Linked DNA regions of Homo sapiens: regions 1, 2, 3 and 4 are each linked to region 5. The links are contacts of gene promoters, found by promoter capture Hi-C in blood cells and fetal thymus (Javierre and others, 2016). All regions are on one chromosome and are shown on one strand. The core of a region is centred on a gene start or on the middle of the fragment in contact, and the rest is flanking DNA. Distances in the headings are between cores, read along the strand shown.

Region 1 (2,700 bases), core at 130-2,629, 280 kb before region 5:
TTCATTACGGTGGTCAGGCTGGTCTCGAACTCCTGACCTTGTGATCCACCCACCTTGGCCTCCAAAAGTGCTGGGATTACAGGTATGAGCCACTGCACCCAGCCAAATTTCCTCTTCTAAGAACACCACTAAATATTGGATTAGGACCACTCTAATGACCTTACCTTAACTTGATTACAGGTGCAATGACTCTCTTCCTACATAATGTCAGACTTATAGGTACCAGAGGTTAGCTCTTCAATGTATCTTTCTGGGCGGACACAATTCAACTTATTAATATAGTGAATGTACTCAGAGATACCAGAACTGTTTGAGGGTAGGGAGAAATCTTCACCACACTATACTCTCAGGTTTTAGCCCAGGGCCAAGGACACAGAAGGAGCAATACATGTGTGCTCAAACAGACCAACAAATCAGTAAACCAGTTAATAAATGGCATATACAGCTACTTTTTTAAAAGGAGAAAGATTTATAGTTTTATTATAGTAAACAGAGACTAAAAGAACAGAAGTTGCCTAACCACTTCTCTGTTATAGAATTATAAGAAGGGATGCTGAACTTACAGCTTGCCTATACATCCAATTTCAGGCATATCTAATTCCAATATCTCCATGAAGATCTGTCTGGAGAAGTAAACCTCTTTAATCTAACATGATCAGAGAATATCTACTGAACGACTCACTACTTTGGGCTGGATTCTAACATAAATTCTGAGAATACACAGTAAGAATGGCATACAGTCGCTGCCTTTAAGGAACTCACATTTCTAGTGGAGCCAAAGCAACCTTACATTACAAATGCCGAGGGGCATGTGCATTGATGCTCATTGATCATTTCTCTGCTTTATTAAAAAAAGTGCTCAAAACATGATTTTACTTACATACCCCTTTTATCCCAAATGTGCAGAATATTCTCCAATTTCTGCTACAACTGCTAACTGCTACAACAAGAGACACTTCAACCCTTTGTCTCTACCACTGCTAACTGACATGTCCTTTCAGCATTTAGGGTTTGGTCTGGGTCCCTCTCCTTCCTCCCCACCCCAATGCTAGGCTATCACTCCCTAATACCAGAGGGCTTGGTTCTATCAGCTTATTTTTTCTGCTGATCCGTCCTCCCACCATCCACTCTCTTCTAACCCACTGCAAATAATGTCTTGTCAACTATGAAACCATGTTAGAAATGTACATAAATCCGAGTAAACAGGCCTTGAGTAAGGGCCCAGAGAGTCTTCAATAAGTGAATTGAACGTGTTCCAGTATATGGACAACAGGGAATCTATCTTTGGTTTCTCAAAAGGCTTTCACCCTTTTTTTGGCTTCAAATTACTAATCCAGTTCTCCCCTCACTCCCCTGCACCACAGTGCTTTTCTATGTTGAGTACTAATCACAACCATTTTTGTCTAATTTTGTGTTTAATTATTGTCTGACTTCTGCAATAGAATTTCAGCTCCTTGAGGCTATAAACCTCATGGACGTATCATTAGCACAATCCCTGGTACATGCTGCACGTTATTAATAAATATCTTCCTCTTCTAACATTTATGAGTCCTTACTGCCCCAGGCACTGTATGAAATACTCCACATGCTTTATCTCATATAATCTTAGAGTTGGCCTAGCAAGAGAACCATCACGTCATGATGCCTTCCCTACAGTGCACACAAACAGCTTTCAGGTAAATAAAGAATTTAAATGTAGTAAGAAAACACACACACACACACACACACACACACACACACACAACAACCACTCTACTTTCCCCTATATAAACCTCATTCTCTACAAAAACAGAGAACAAATTCTCTACTGATTTCTTATTTCTTAACCCAGGACTTGGATTAACTGATTCTAGGGACTCTCATGAATACTTTCATTCTCATTTAATCCAAACCAGTAAATTTACATTACTCAAATGCTTTTTTTTTCTTTTTTTCCCCACACAATATAGAAATATGGAAATATTCAAAGACTTTTATTAAATGAATTTTTATCCTTCTTTCTGGCCAAAAATATTAGGAAAACTATCTGCAGTATGAAGATTTATACAAACTCATAAAATATTAATAATGTTTAAGGCTATTTTTGTTTCACATAAAACCTTCATTATTTCTCTCCTCTATAAAATTCAGTGCTACAGAGTTAATAGCATATAGAAAATTTACTAAAATTAGACTTTAATTTCAAATTATTATTTAGACATGAAAAAAACCAACAATGTTGAATATAAGCCAAAAATCCCAGTTTCATAGCAGCGAGTGGCAAGTTTAAAATGGTGCTTATTTTTAATTTTATGTGCAATGTATAATTTACTGTAAAAACTAAATCATATAATTAATGGAACTCACTATGAGAATTAGCTAAGATGCTAGTTGTTGATCTGACACCAGGGGGCAGACATTTTGCTTTAACTCTAAGGTTAGCTAAGGTATTCTAAATCTTTTAGTTAAGGGACTGGAGACCTTTCTTTGGGAATCATATTACCATAGGAATTTCCAACTTTTAAAAATTAGTAAAGTGCCTAGAGATTAAACAGCAGTTAAAAACACTTAACAGCTGTGATCATGGAGCCTCTGACCACTAATGTGTACTGAACTTCCTATGTGAGGGTCATCAATCTGTTAAGCAATAGATCCTAAACAGACACAGCACTGGGGCTCAGGAGCTTCCAGTCTAGGGCTGGAAGTGAACATTAATTTCCT
Region 2 (2,700 bases), core at 191-2,690, 260 kb before region 5:
TTGGAAAATAATACACTGGCATTGAGAATGTGCACTGAACATGCAGTACCAAGAAATCTAACACCTAGGAGAGTGGTAATTCTCATAACAAATTAATAGATTCTTATTTTGGCTCCAGTGTTTCTTATTTTGGCTTTAGTATTTCTCGAGAAGTTGATTAATAAGTCCATCCGTCAGAAATGGATCTTTTTTTTGAGACAGAGTCTTGCTCTGTTGCTCAGGCTGGAGTGTAGTGGCACCATCATAGTTTCAAATGCCAGGGTCAAGCGATCTTCTGGCCTTAGCATCCTGAGTAGCTGGGACCACAGGTATGTGCCACTATATCTGGCTAATGTTTAAAAAAAAAAAATTTTTTTTTTTTTTTGAAACAGACTCACTTTGTTGCCCAGGCTGCAGTGCAGTGGCACAAACACAGCTCACTACAGCCTCGACTTCCTGAGTTAAATCCTCCTACCTCAGCCTCCTACGTAGCTGACGCCAGCATGTGCCACTATGTCTGGCTAATTTTTTAATTTTACAGAGACAGGGTCTTGCCATGTTGCCCAGGCTGGTCTTGAAATCCTAGACTTAAGTAATCCTCCTGCCTCACCCTCCCAAAGTACTGGGGATTACAGGTGTGAGCCACCGTGCCAGCCCTTAAACATTTTTTTAACAGAAACAGAGACTCACTATGTTGCCCAGGCTGGTGTTGAACTCCTGGCCTCAAGAGATCCTCCTGCCTAAGCCTCCCAACATACTGGGATTACAGATGTGAGCCACCGTGCCCCGCCATGGATCTGCTTTTAATGCCTGGTTTTAGAGCCTCTTAGCTAGATTGTTGGCCACAGTTATTTCACTGAGGTTACATCTGTTGAGTGTCTCACTTGGCAGAGATTCTGAACATCAGTTTGTGAGTGCTCAAGCATGCTTGTCTTTCTACAAGTGGCCCCTTCACTTTACTGTAGAGAACTAGAAATGAGAGAAATGGGATGTGTCATCACTGTATTTGAGAGTTCATTGGTGAATGAGATATCTAGCCATTTTTCTAGAACTATGGCTAAGTTGAATTTAATATTTAAGATGAGGAAAAACGAAGACTGGTTAAACCATTATAAGTATTTCACTGTTTTTGTTTGTTTGTTTTGTTTTTTAAGGCAGTTCTCTAATAACACCCAATCTGTTTAAGCCACCCATGTTTCCACCCCATCCTCATCTGATCACCCCTCTGAATCTTGGTTAAAATAAAGGACATACACGAGTCCCAGACAGGGTGCAGAAATTTGGTGTCCAGGTGACAAAGTCTGAATCTCTCTGACTTCTCCCTAAAAACGACAACTCTATCTTGAGGATGTCAGTCCTTGGCTATTATTCCCACATCATCTCAACTGACATGTCTAAAATCAAACACATCATCTTTCTCCAACAATTAGCTCCTCCTCCCATCTCTACTATTTCTGAAAACTAACATTTTCTTAGTCTTCAACTTGAAAATCTGACATATTTGATTCTACTCACTCCCTCTCCACCCACATCCAATCAATCACTAAATTCTAGAGATTCATCCTTTCCTCTACTTCCACTCTATTTTTAAAACTACTAATCTTGTCCAGTCCTCATAATCTAAACAAATTACTGTAAAACTCTCATAATCACCTGCCTCCTTTTGAAACTGACCCAATTGTCCCACAGTGCTGATATTTATGGTTTCTTTGAATAAACATAGAAATTGATCCTCCCAGTCTTAAAACTTGAAAAAGTTACTTTTGTCTTAGCTGAGTTCCTTTTTCAGGAACTCAACCATCAAGCCTCCCAGATAGCATGAAGGAGCTGAAACTTACATGACCGCTGCATATGGACAATGAGATGCCAGACCCCTCACCCTCACCTATCATGATTGCCTATCCAACCACCTGCTTCCTGTTGACCAGCTCCTCTTCCTTACACCTCCCTAATTCCTGTTTTCCCACATGTGGTTACATTTCTTCCCTACTATATAAACCCCTAAGTTTAGTGTGTCGGGGAGATGCATTTGAGACTGATTTCCCATCTCCTCAGCTGCAGCACCCGATTAAAGCCTTCTTACTTGGCAATACTCATCTCATTAAATGGCTTTCTGTGCGTCAAGCAGCAGGTCCTAGACCAAACCTCTGGTGTTTCAGCAACATTAACACTTTACCCCACAAACATATTCTAGCCACCAATATCAGATATACTTTCTTTAAACTCTACCTTACAAAGGGCATTCCTTTTCTCATAAGCATCACTCATGTTTCATTAACAAAAGCAAGGTCAGTTAAGTACATTAGCACATTCTCTGGCCTCTACCTACCTATTTGACTTTCTCTCTCACAGTTATCATTCTTCAAAGACTCTTCTTTCCAACCAAATTGCTAAGAGCACTGATCCTCATACCTAGAGCAGAAGTTCCCAAAGGGAACTTCGAGGAGTCTCAGAGATTGAAGCTATTTTCATAACACTCAGATGTTATTTACAACCCTTTTCACTGTGTTGACATTTAAGTGATAGGGCACAAAAAATAAATGATAACATTGCTGGCATCTCAGCATGAAGCAAGACAGTAGCATAAGCTATATTAGTGGTTATTGTGTTCCCCAATGTAATAACGTCCTTGAAGCGGTAAAAATTATTAATTTTATTAAATCTCAACCCCAAAGTATTATGTTTTTAATGAAGGTACACATAAAGTGCTTCCATGGCATA
Region 3 (2,774 bases), core at 194-2,693, 320 kb before region 5:
TCTCTGTGAGCAGCAGTGCAATGCAGAAACTACAATGTAGAGGGGGCCAGGAGAATGAGGGCTCTAGGGCTGGCTTTGTCATTGCAACAGATCAACTAACAGCTTCCTTGGCTATGCAGCTGATTTATTTTTTCATTCAGCAAATAGTTAATGAATGTCGTCATGTACTGGGCCCTGTGCACAGGATGAGGAGAACAGGTCCCGGCCACCAAGGAGCTTCCTAGTGGGAAAGTGACATACCACAGGTAACAACACTACAATGGGACATGATAGAATACAGGGCTTTCAAAGCAATGGGGTAAGAGCAGTAGCTCTGGGGAGACAATGGGGTGAGGCCAAATAATTTTTGAGGAAGGGACATGCAAATAAAAATAGGGAGGCTATAGTCATTAGAGGACCTGCTGTCCTACTTACTCAGCGTAAATCACTTGGAGAGCTTATGCAAAGGTTCCCAGGCCCCATCCCATTCTGTGATCCCCAGAGGTTCTCCTGGCACCATTCCTCGGCTCACTGGCTGAGAAATACGGCCTGCACATTCAACAGGCCCTGCTCCAAGATTCCTTCCAGCACTCAATGTCATGATTACTTGACTGAGTGAAGAAGTTCAGAAAAATGACGGCAGAACGGCCCTTTTATGTTGTCATCTTATTTCTACATGTATATGAGAATACACAGGCTTAAGGTATTCCACTGGGCACCCTCCTGGGGGGGTTAGGCTCTCATGACGCCCGTGAGGCTGTGAGCACTTCATAAGAACAGGCTGATTTAGGACCAAGAGGAAACCACAGTTTGAGCAACAATTCATTTTCTCGAGCTTCAGACCCGCCTTCTCCATACTTTCTTCTGTAGGAAGACCAAAACACCTTCATTTGAAAAGATGGGAAGACTTGGCCACAAGCCAATGGATATTCATAAAAATATTTTGTGTGGCTCTCCGTTCTCTCTAAAATTCAATATCCAAGCAGTCTGCAAGGTAATTTGGAACAAATAAATGGTTTGGGCGGGGAGGAGCACCACGTGCTAAATTTCAGCAGCAAATGCTTCCTGGCCAGTTTATAAACTTTCAAAAATACTGCTGGCATATGCAGCGGAAACATTATCCACTGCGCTTAACACCTCCCAAGTGAACTTTGGAATGTGAAATGTAAAATTTTCAAACTGTAAGGAAGCCTTCAGTTCTAAACTTTTGTGAAGCCTAGTCAACAGATTTAGCACTTAGTTATTTGATTCTTTTTTTTTTTTTGAAGCCAGCTCAGAAAAAAGCTGAATAAAATATGCATTTCTAACACAACATATTACAAGCTTCTTCTGTCCCTTAAGATTTTGCTCTCTTCTCATGCTTTGAAATTGGTTGAAATAGATTCTATTTAGGAACCAAAGAAATGGTGTTAGAAAAATAATCATTTCTCTTCAACTGTCATTAGCACCTGAGACAATGATATTAAGAAAGGTCATTTTCTAGAAGGCTCCATATGTGACATAGCCTCCCTTAGGGTGAGTTAAAGGGATTCAAGAGTCTCCAAGCCTCCCAGACATATGATATTGTGAAGTTCGGGGTGGAAATAGGGGCCAGGAGACCTGAACTCAAGCTTGACTCTACCATGTATTAGCTGTGTGTCTTGCCCAAACTCCTCAACCTCTCTGTCTCTCAGTGTCAAATGTAAAATGAGAAAGACAACTATAGTACCAGATACATAAGGATTTTGGTGTGTTTTTTGTTTGTTTGTTTGTTTTAAGAGACAGGGTTTTACCCTGTTATCCAGGCTGGAGTGCTATGGTGTGATCATAGCTCACCTGCAGCCTCAAATTTCTGGGTTCAAGTGATCTTCCTGCCTCAGCCTCCTAAGTAGCTTGGGCTACAGGCACATACCACCACACCTGGCTAATTTAAAATCTTTTTTTTTTTGTAGAGATGGGGTCTTGCTATGTTGTCCAGGCTGCTCCTCAACTCCTGGTCTCAAGTGATTCTCCTGCCTAGGCCTCCCAAAGAGCTGGGATTACAGGCGTGAGCTGCAGCACCTGACCACATAAGGGTTTTATGGGGAGTAAAGAGTTAAGGCATTAGGCTGGACTGTAAATATTTGATTTCTCTTAGTGCCTCTGGTTTAATATTGGTGACAGGGTCTGCACATCAGCGTATGTGGCAGGCTAAGTCTTTTCCCCAGTTCTCCTATTCCTCTTCTATCTGCTCAACTCTTTGCCTCTATGACTTATTTATTTCCTTTTAAATCTGCTTGGTTCTTTGACTTAACGGAGGACCTTATGTAGGGGGAGAAACACGTGTATTATGGGAACAACTGAAAGGTCAGCCTGAAGACTTTTGCCCTGTTGCTTTCTGAGAGTGCTGGATATGAGTCCCTGTCTCTGAAACTTCTAAAAATATGCACCTTTAACCAGCTTCCACGGAGGGATAAGCCTTTGTCAATACAAATGGTACAGTGAGCAGCAGAAGAGAGGAATGGAACTGATAGAAGGTGGAGATTCTCAGAGTCCTCGGGCTCTAGAGTCCTGGGGTCTGGAGTCAGGGAACTGGATACATCCCACCCTAACCCCAGCTGAGGGACACTTAACTCATTGAGTCTCAGTTACCTCTTTCCTTAAATGGAGAACATACCAGCTGACTTTTCTGCCTCAGGAGACTCCTGAGAAGATCAGATGAAATGATGTCTAGGAAAATACCCTGAAAACCACAACAGATTTTTAAGAGCAGTGAGGAGGCCGAGCAGCGGGGCTGTTGGGGGGGAACACTGAACTCCAGGGCAGGAGGTGCCAAG
Region 4 (2,795 bases), core at 286-2,785, 300 kb before region 5:
AAGTAGCTGGGATTGCAGGCGCCTACCACCACGCCCGGCTAATTTTTATAGTTTTAGTAGAGATGGGGTTTCGCCACGTTGGCCAGGCTGGTCTCGAACTCCTGACCTCAGGTGATCTGCCAGCTTTGGCCTCCCAAAGTGCTGGGATTACAGGCATGAGCCACCACACCCGGCCTCCACCTCATATTCTCATAAAAGTATGCAGATAGGATATGATCAGAGGTTGGTAGAAGATAAAAGTATACATCTCCGTTCATAGACTATTAACCAAAACCAAACACAACATAGTCAGGAGGACTCTGCATACAAACTTAAAACTAAAAGGCATGAAATGTAAGCAGCTAAAAATTACCTAGAAGGAAACTCTGTATTTGTAAATATTCAACCATCCATCGGTCCATCCATCCATAAACTTATATATAATTAAGGTTAATCATATGACCTGGTTATAGAATATTTTAGATGTAGTAAAATATTTTAATATTTTATCACTGGAATGTCTAATTCTAAATACCTCCACACAGAATAAAACACGTATTTTCTAACTAGTGATATTAAAGTCTTGAGATGAAGTATAACCTAAGAACACTATTTCCTTTTAGAGTGTGCACATAGTATACAACATAGCACTACTGAGAACCTCAGGCTTAAGGGTGCTCCTTCCAAAAAAGCTTAATAAAAACTTAAAATCTGAGTGAAGATTTGTATTTTACTTTAAGAAAACTAGAGACAATTATGGTAATCTCAATTTTGTTTTCTTGAGAAGTACTGGGAAAAAAACTGCATTGAGATCACAACCCTTAAAAATCCAAAAGCCTAAGCATAATAATGAAAGGAGAATGGGTGTAGGTGAGAATGGTCTTGAAATCAGCAATTTTTGATAATCTTCTATCTCTCTCCCTTTCTTCCTTTTTTGAGACAGGGCCTTGCTTTGTCACCCAGGCTGGAGTGCAGTGGCATGATCACAACTCACTGCAGCCTTGACCTCCTGGGCTCAAGCGATTCTCCTGTCTCAACCCCCTGAGTAGCTGGGACTACAGTTGCCCGCCACCATGCCCAGCTGATTTTTAAATTTTTTGTAGAGATGGGGTCTCATTATGCTGGCCAGGCTGGTCTTGAACTCCTGACCTCAAGTGATCCTCCCGCCTCGGCCTTCCAAAGTGTTGGGATTACAGGCGTGAGCCGCTGCACTCAGCCTTAATTTTTTATAATTTTAAAAAGTAGAGATCACATCATATTTAGATAAAATAGCTAGGCAGGCTTTATTACTTTCTCCTCCAGCTGTCTGCCTATCCCACCCACCTAATGAGTGACAGCAATACAACCTGTTCAATACCAGGCAGGATTTATTTAGGTTTGGCAGGAAGACTACCTAGTCACTCGTCCTAACCACAGTATTCCAGAAAGATCTATGATTATATGGACATTAAGCTAAGTGTAACTGCACAACATCATTCAGAGAATGTGCCCCGCTGCCACATCCTCTGTCAACCTAATCTTTCAACTTAATTTTATTCTTATTTCAGAGTGAGCAGCAGGAGAAGAGAAGACAAAATACAACCAGGGGCATGAATCTTTCTTTGGCTTCCATACAATTAAACAGAATAGAATTACTAGTGGCATCACACTCTTTCAAGGTAGGCAGGTTTGAAAATATATTAAATGGAGACAATTTTCTTTTCTGTTATTTTGGCAGGATCTTCAATATGCTTTTCTCTCAGAGCTGCAGTCCTCTGGCTAGTATACAACAGCAACGATCACAAAATGGAAGCTATTTAGAAGTGGCCTTGATCAACTCCAACGTCATTATTCTTCTAAATGGTGGCATGCCAGGACTTGATTTCCCACTTAAGTTAGATACTTCAACAAAAGATCATTATGGAGAATTTGGGCAATTGACACAGTATTCAATGACAATTTGGCCTTTTATCAGCATATTACAATTACAAGCTGAAGTGGGCGTCATGTTTTGTAAAATCCAAATCTGTGTGTGGGAACATTATTATACTACACTCTCATAGATTAGAATGAATATTATATTATACATATGCATAAACCATATACATTTTATTTCTGATATAAGAACTATAGCATGCACTTCCAGAGCACTACAGGACTTCCAAAGAGCTATAATTAATCCAATCTCACTTGATCCCACAAAATCTTGCCACAGATGCAGAGCAGATATTATTCCCATTTTACTAAAGAAACAGATTTCAGCAATGTTAAATAACTTGATCGAGGTTAGGAAAATGCTTATCATTTGGCTGCAGAAAAATCTTGGTGTATTTTTATTTGGGAGCCATCCTATTCGTTAAGTGTATTTTAAAGGTTAAGTGCCCTTAAAAAAATCAGTAGAACGGAGGTAAATTGTTCAGCCTGTCAGAGTGGTTAATGGACAAGCTTTAATATTTGATGTAAAAAAGGATTTTAGACTATGGATGGGGAGGAGGAGTACAGAGAAAAACGTTTTTCTGAGATTATGTTGTGAAAACATACTTAAAGGGATCAGAGTAAAAGCTTCTTTCTTATTACTCCTCTCAGTAATAAGAGGAGTACCTCTACCTACATTAAAAAAAGAATTTGAGGCAGGCTATATAAAACATATAAATATATTTCAGTCAATAAATAACACAAGAGAATAGACCCATGGGGTTAAGATATTTAAATTACTGGTCAAAAAATTTACAAAGTTATATAATAAAAGAAGTTCATCAAAAACAGAAATTTTTTTTCGGGTTTTTTTTTTTTTTTTTTGAGACGGGGTCTCGCTCTGTCGCCCAGGCTGGAGTGCA
Region 5 (2,838 bases), core at 115-2,614:
AAAATGGAAAGAAAATAGAAGTAGAATGTTGTGGAATCTTAGATAAAGAATGGGCTCTTGGAGCCCAGTTTAGCAGGGTTTACTTCTCAGTTTTACTTTTCAATTGTGACCGTAAGCAAATTAACTTCTCTAGGCCTGGGATTCTGATCTGTAAAATTGCACTAATATGAGTCTCTTCACGGCTCCTCTAAGGATTAAATGAGAGACACATGCAAAGGATCCCCAAAAACAATAACTCAAAAAATGTTGATTCCCTCCCTTCCCTCTGTCATCTGTTAACCTCAACTTCCTAAATAGAAGGTCTATTCTTTTACCATCATCATTATTCTCTTCGGTGCCTATTTTTAAAAAATACTCAACCTTCTTGCTTCCTTCGCTACCTAAGTATTTCTGCAAGCCCACTTTGTTCTGCAGCTTAGCTTTCCTGGCACAATTCTTATAGATTTTGGTCCCTTTTAAAATTCATTCTTCAGCAAATGCTTTCTCTCTCCATCTTTTGACTAGAGATCATTAGAGATCACCTGAGATCATTAGAGAACAGTGGTTTCCTTGGTTGCCATTCCCTTTCTTCTTCATTGGGAGTATTCTGCGGTGAACTCAGACATTTTATTTTTCAAAGCTTCCCATTCTTTTAAAAATGCTTTTCCTTTTACAGCCTCTCGCTCAAAATCATACCCATCTTTTCCCTGGATCTGTTTTCTCAAGTCTCCAATCGCCTGCCTTCTTTGTGTCTTGTATTACCCTCACATCCCCCAGCTTTCTACTGCTCTCCCAGGACCAACCATTTCTTCCGCGGGAGTCACATTACATCAGCATTCCTAATGCAGTATCTGTTATCTACCAGATTCTGTTTTATTCTAGGTAGTCACTTAAAAACGAACCTCGGTACTGGTCTGACTTAACATGGAGGAGGAATTGTCTAAGGTTAAACGCAAACTGCTGAGAGATTTGGGGCGGGGGGCACACATTTACATTCATTCGTATTAAATATATACCTGTTGAATTTGTGCTTTTTCTCAAATGCTTCAGAGACTCGAGCTTTAGAGTAATTGGGATGGTGAAAGGATGGGTTTCCAGAAACTTCGCCCAAAATTAAAGACTCCATCAAAAGGACTGCTCCATACACTCAAGGAACACCCACCAACAAATCCCGTCTCCACAACCACCAGATTATCTCACCGGCGAGTGAGACTGCAAGGTTTGGGGGCCCGGCCGTACCACTCCGCGCTGCGCACGGGGGGTTCGTACCCATCTGGCCGCGACCGTCCGTTTCCCCCTCGCTTGGTTCTGCCCCTGCTCCCCCTGCACAGGCCTCACAGTGCGTCTGGCCGGCGCTTTATAGCTGCAGCCTGGGCGGCTCCGCTAGCTGTTTTTCGTCTTCCCTAGGCTATTTCTGCCGGGCGCTCCGCGAAGATGCAGCTCAAGCCGATGGAGATCAACCCCGAGGTGAGCGCCAGGTGCACCGCTACCCGGAGAGCGCGAGGCCGAGGGAGGGGGAGCCGAGTCGCTGATCGGTTCGGTTTTGCCTTTTTCTTTGCATTTGCCTTTCAGATGCTGAACAAAGTGAGTGGCGTCTCGCGCCGTCTCTGGCCCCCTCCCCCGCGAGCGCCGAGGCGGGGGCGCCCACCGGTTCCGGCTGCTGGCAGGGACCAAGCCGCCCGCTGCGAGCACCGGAGACGGCCGGGCTGGGGCGTGGGCTGGGCGCCTTTCCTGGGCCCCTGCATTTAGCGGGTGACTCTACGAAACCGGTCACGGGGAGACGGAGGGGGCTGCGCCCCGTGGCGAGCGAGCGCCAGGCGGAGCTCCCGAGGGCGTGGCGCGGGCAGCACAGACTCGGCTGCACGGGCTTCGCGGGCGCCACGTGTGGGCCGCGCTTTGTGCTGTGTCATTGCGCCGGCCCGGGTGGGGGTGGCAGGGCGGGACTGGGGCTCCTCCCAGGCTCGGGTGCGGGCGCGGAGGGCGCGCGCCTCCTGGCCCCGCCCCCTGGCAGGTGCCCGCGACCCGCGTGTCCCCGTGCGCCTGGCCGCCTTGTCTCCTCTCCGCAGGTGCTGTCCCGGCTGGGGGTCGCCGGCCAGTGGCGCTTCGTGGACGTGCTGGGGCTGGAAGAGGAGTCTCTGGGCTCGGTGCCAGCGCCTGCCTGCGCGCTGCTGCTGCTGTTTCCCCTCACGGCCCAGGTAGGGCGTGGGGCCCAGGATGCGCCGGCCGCCGGCAGTGCACGCCGCTCCCCAGCTTGAGTCCTCGGGGGCTCCCCGCCCCGCCCCCTCCCCTGTAGGTGATGCGGGGCGCGCCTACAAGGAAGGGAGGAGCCTGCATTTTCGTGGTACCTACTCCCTGGGCTCCTGTTCCAGCGGTGCCTGTCGCCTTCTTGCCCATCCGTCCACAATTGCCTTAAATTTGGAAGAGAGGCAGTATCTCAGTTCCATCTATCCCGTTATCCAGGGAAATCATTCATCCTACTCATGAGTTCCCTCGAACTTGGGCTTTTTCGAGCCTCCGGTTCCGGGGAATGGCTGCTGGTTTCCCTTTAAGGGCTATAACCTGTCAACTCATTGTTTGCTTCTCAGACTCCCACCTAGCTGTAGAATGGAGGGGGAAGGGCTGACCTAAATCGCAGGGAAACAATTAGGTTCGCTAATTCTCCGCCTCCATTACTTGGGTTTCTGATGGTCTTAAGGGGTTCTTCTCTCTTCTCCACTCCCACCACTTGCACACTTGGTTTTTAGCCTCTTGAATGTATTTCTTAAAGCTTAATCATTTTGTGTATGGTTTCTGTGTGGGAACCTCCTTCCTCTTCACTTATCCTTGTTCATCTCTGACCTTGTAGCTAACTGAAATAGG

Evidence for each region. Contacts are between HindIII fragments. The CHiCAGO score rates a contact against its expected background, and 5 or more counts as called.
Region 1: a contact is called between a fragment that was not itself captured here and the fragment with the promoter of UCHL1 in region 5, in 1 of 17 cell types (M2 macrophages). The highest score is 5.1, in M2 macrophages.
Region 2: a fragment that was not itself captured here is called in contact with the fragment with the promoter of UCHL1 in region 5 in 1 of 17 cell types (M0 macrophages); the score reaches 6.0 in M0 macrophages.
Region 3: a fragment that was not itself captured here is called in contact with the fragment with the promoter of UCHL1 in region 5 in 2 of 17 cell types (M0 macrophages and M1 macrophages); the score reaches 7.3 in M0 macrophages.
Region 4: a fragment that was not itself captured here is called in contact with the fragment with the promoter of UCHL1 in region 5 in 3 of 17 cell types (M0 macrophages, M2 macrophages and M1 macrophages); the score reaches 6.5 in M0 macrophages.

What each region holds. Positions count from the first base shown.
Region 1 is chr4:40,974,048-40,976,747 of GRCh38, forward strand. All of the region lies in intron 6 of APBB2 (amyloid beta precursor protein binding family B member 2), which reads right to left. Among named protein-coding and RNA genes, the nearest start is that of NSUN7, 230 kb to the left of the region's middle. The HindIII fragment of the contact is 5,502 bases long and covers 1-2,700 here.
Region 2 is chr4:40,995,200-40,997,899 of GRCh38, forward strand. All of the region lies in intron 6 of APBB2 (amyloid beta precursor protein binding family B member 2), which reads right to left. Among named protein-coding and RNA genes, the nearest start is that of APBB2, 220 kb to the right of the region's middle. The HindIII fragment of the contact is 2,969 bases long and covers 1-2,700 here.
Region 3 is chr4:40,939,912-40,942,685 of GRCh38, forward strand. The region is part of intron 7 of APBB2 (amyloid beta precursor protein binding family B member 2); the gene reads right to left. Among named protein-coding and RNA genes, the nearest start is that of NSUN7, 190 kb to the left of the region's middle. The HindIII fragment of the contact is 287 bases long and covers 1,301-1,587 here.
Region 4 is chr4:40,957,709-40,960,503 of GRCh38, forward strand. The region is part of intron 6 of APBB2 (amyloid beta precursor protein binding family B member 2); the gene reads right to left. Among named protein-coding and RNA genes, the nearest start is that of NSUN7, 210 kb to the left of the region's middle. The HindIII fragment of the contact is 1,732 bases long and covers 670-2,401 here.
Region 5 is chr4:41,255,564-41,258,401 of GRCh38, forward strand. It overlaps UCHL1 (ubiquitin C-terminal hydrolase L1), which reads left to right and starts at 1,365. Exons shown (of 9, transcript NM_004181.5): 1 at 1,365-1,446; 2 at 1,552-1,563; 3 at 2,046-2,174. The coding sequence starts at 1,414. It overlaps UCHL1-DT (UCHL1 divergent transcript), which reads right to left and starts at 1,164. Exons shown (of 3, transcript NR_102709.1): 1 at 996-1,164. RefSeq lists a silencer at 1,481-2,240 and an enhancer at 2,075-2,575. The HindIII fragment of the contact is 2,127 bases long and covers 618-2,744 here.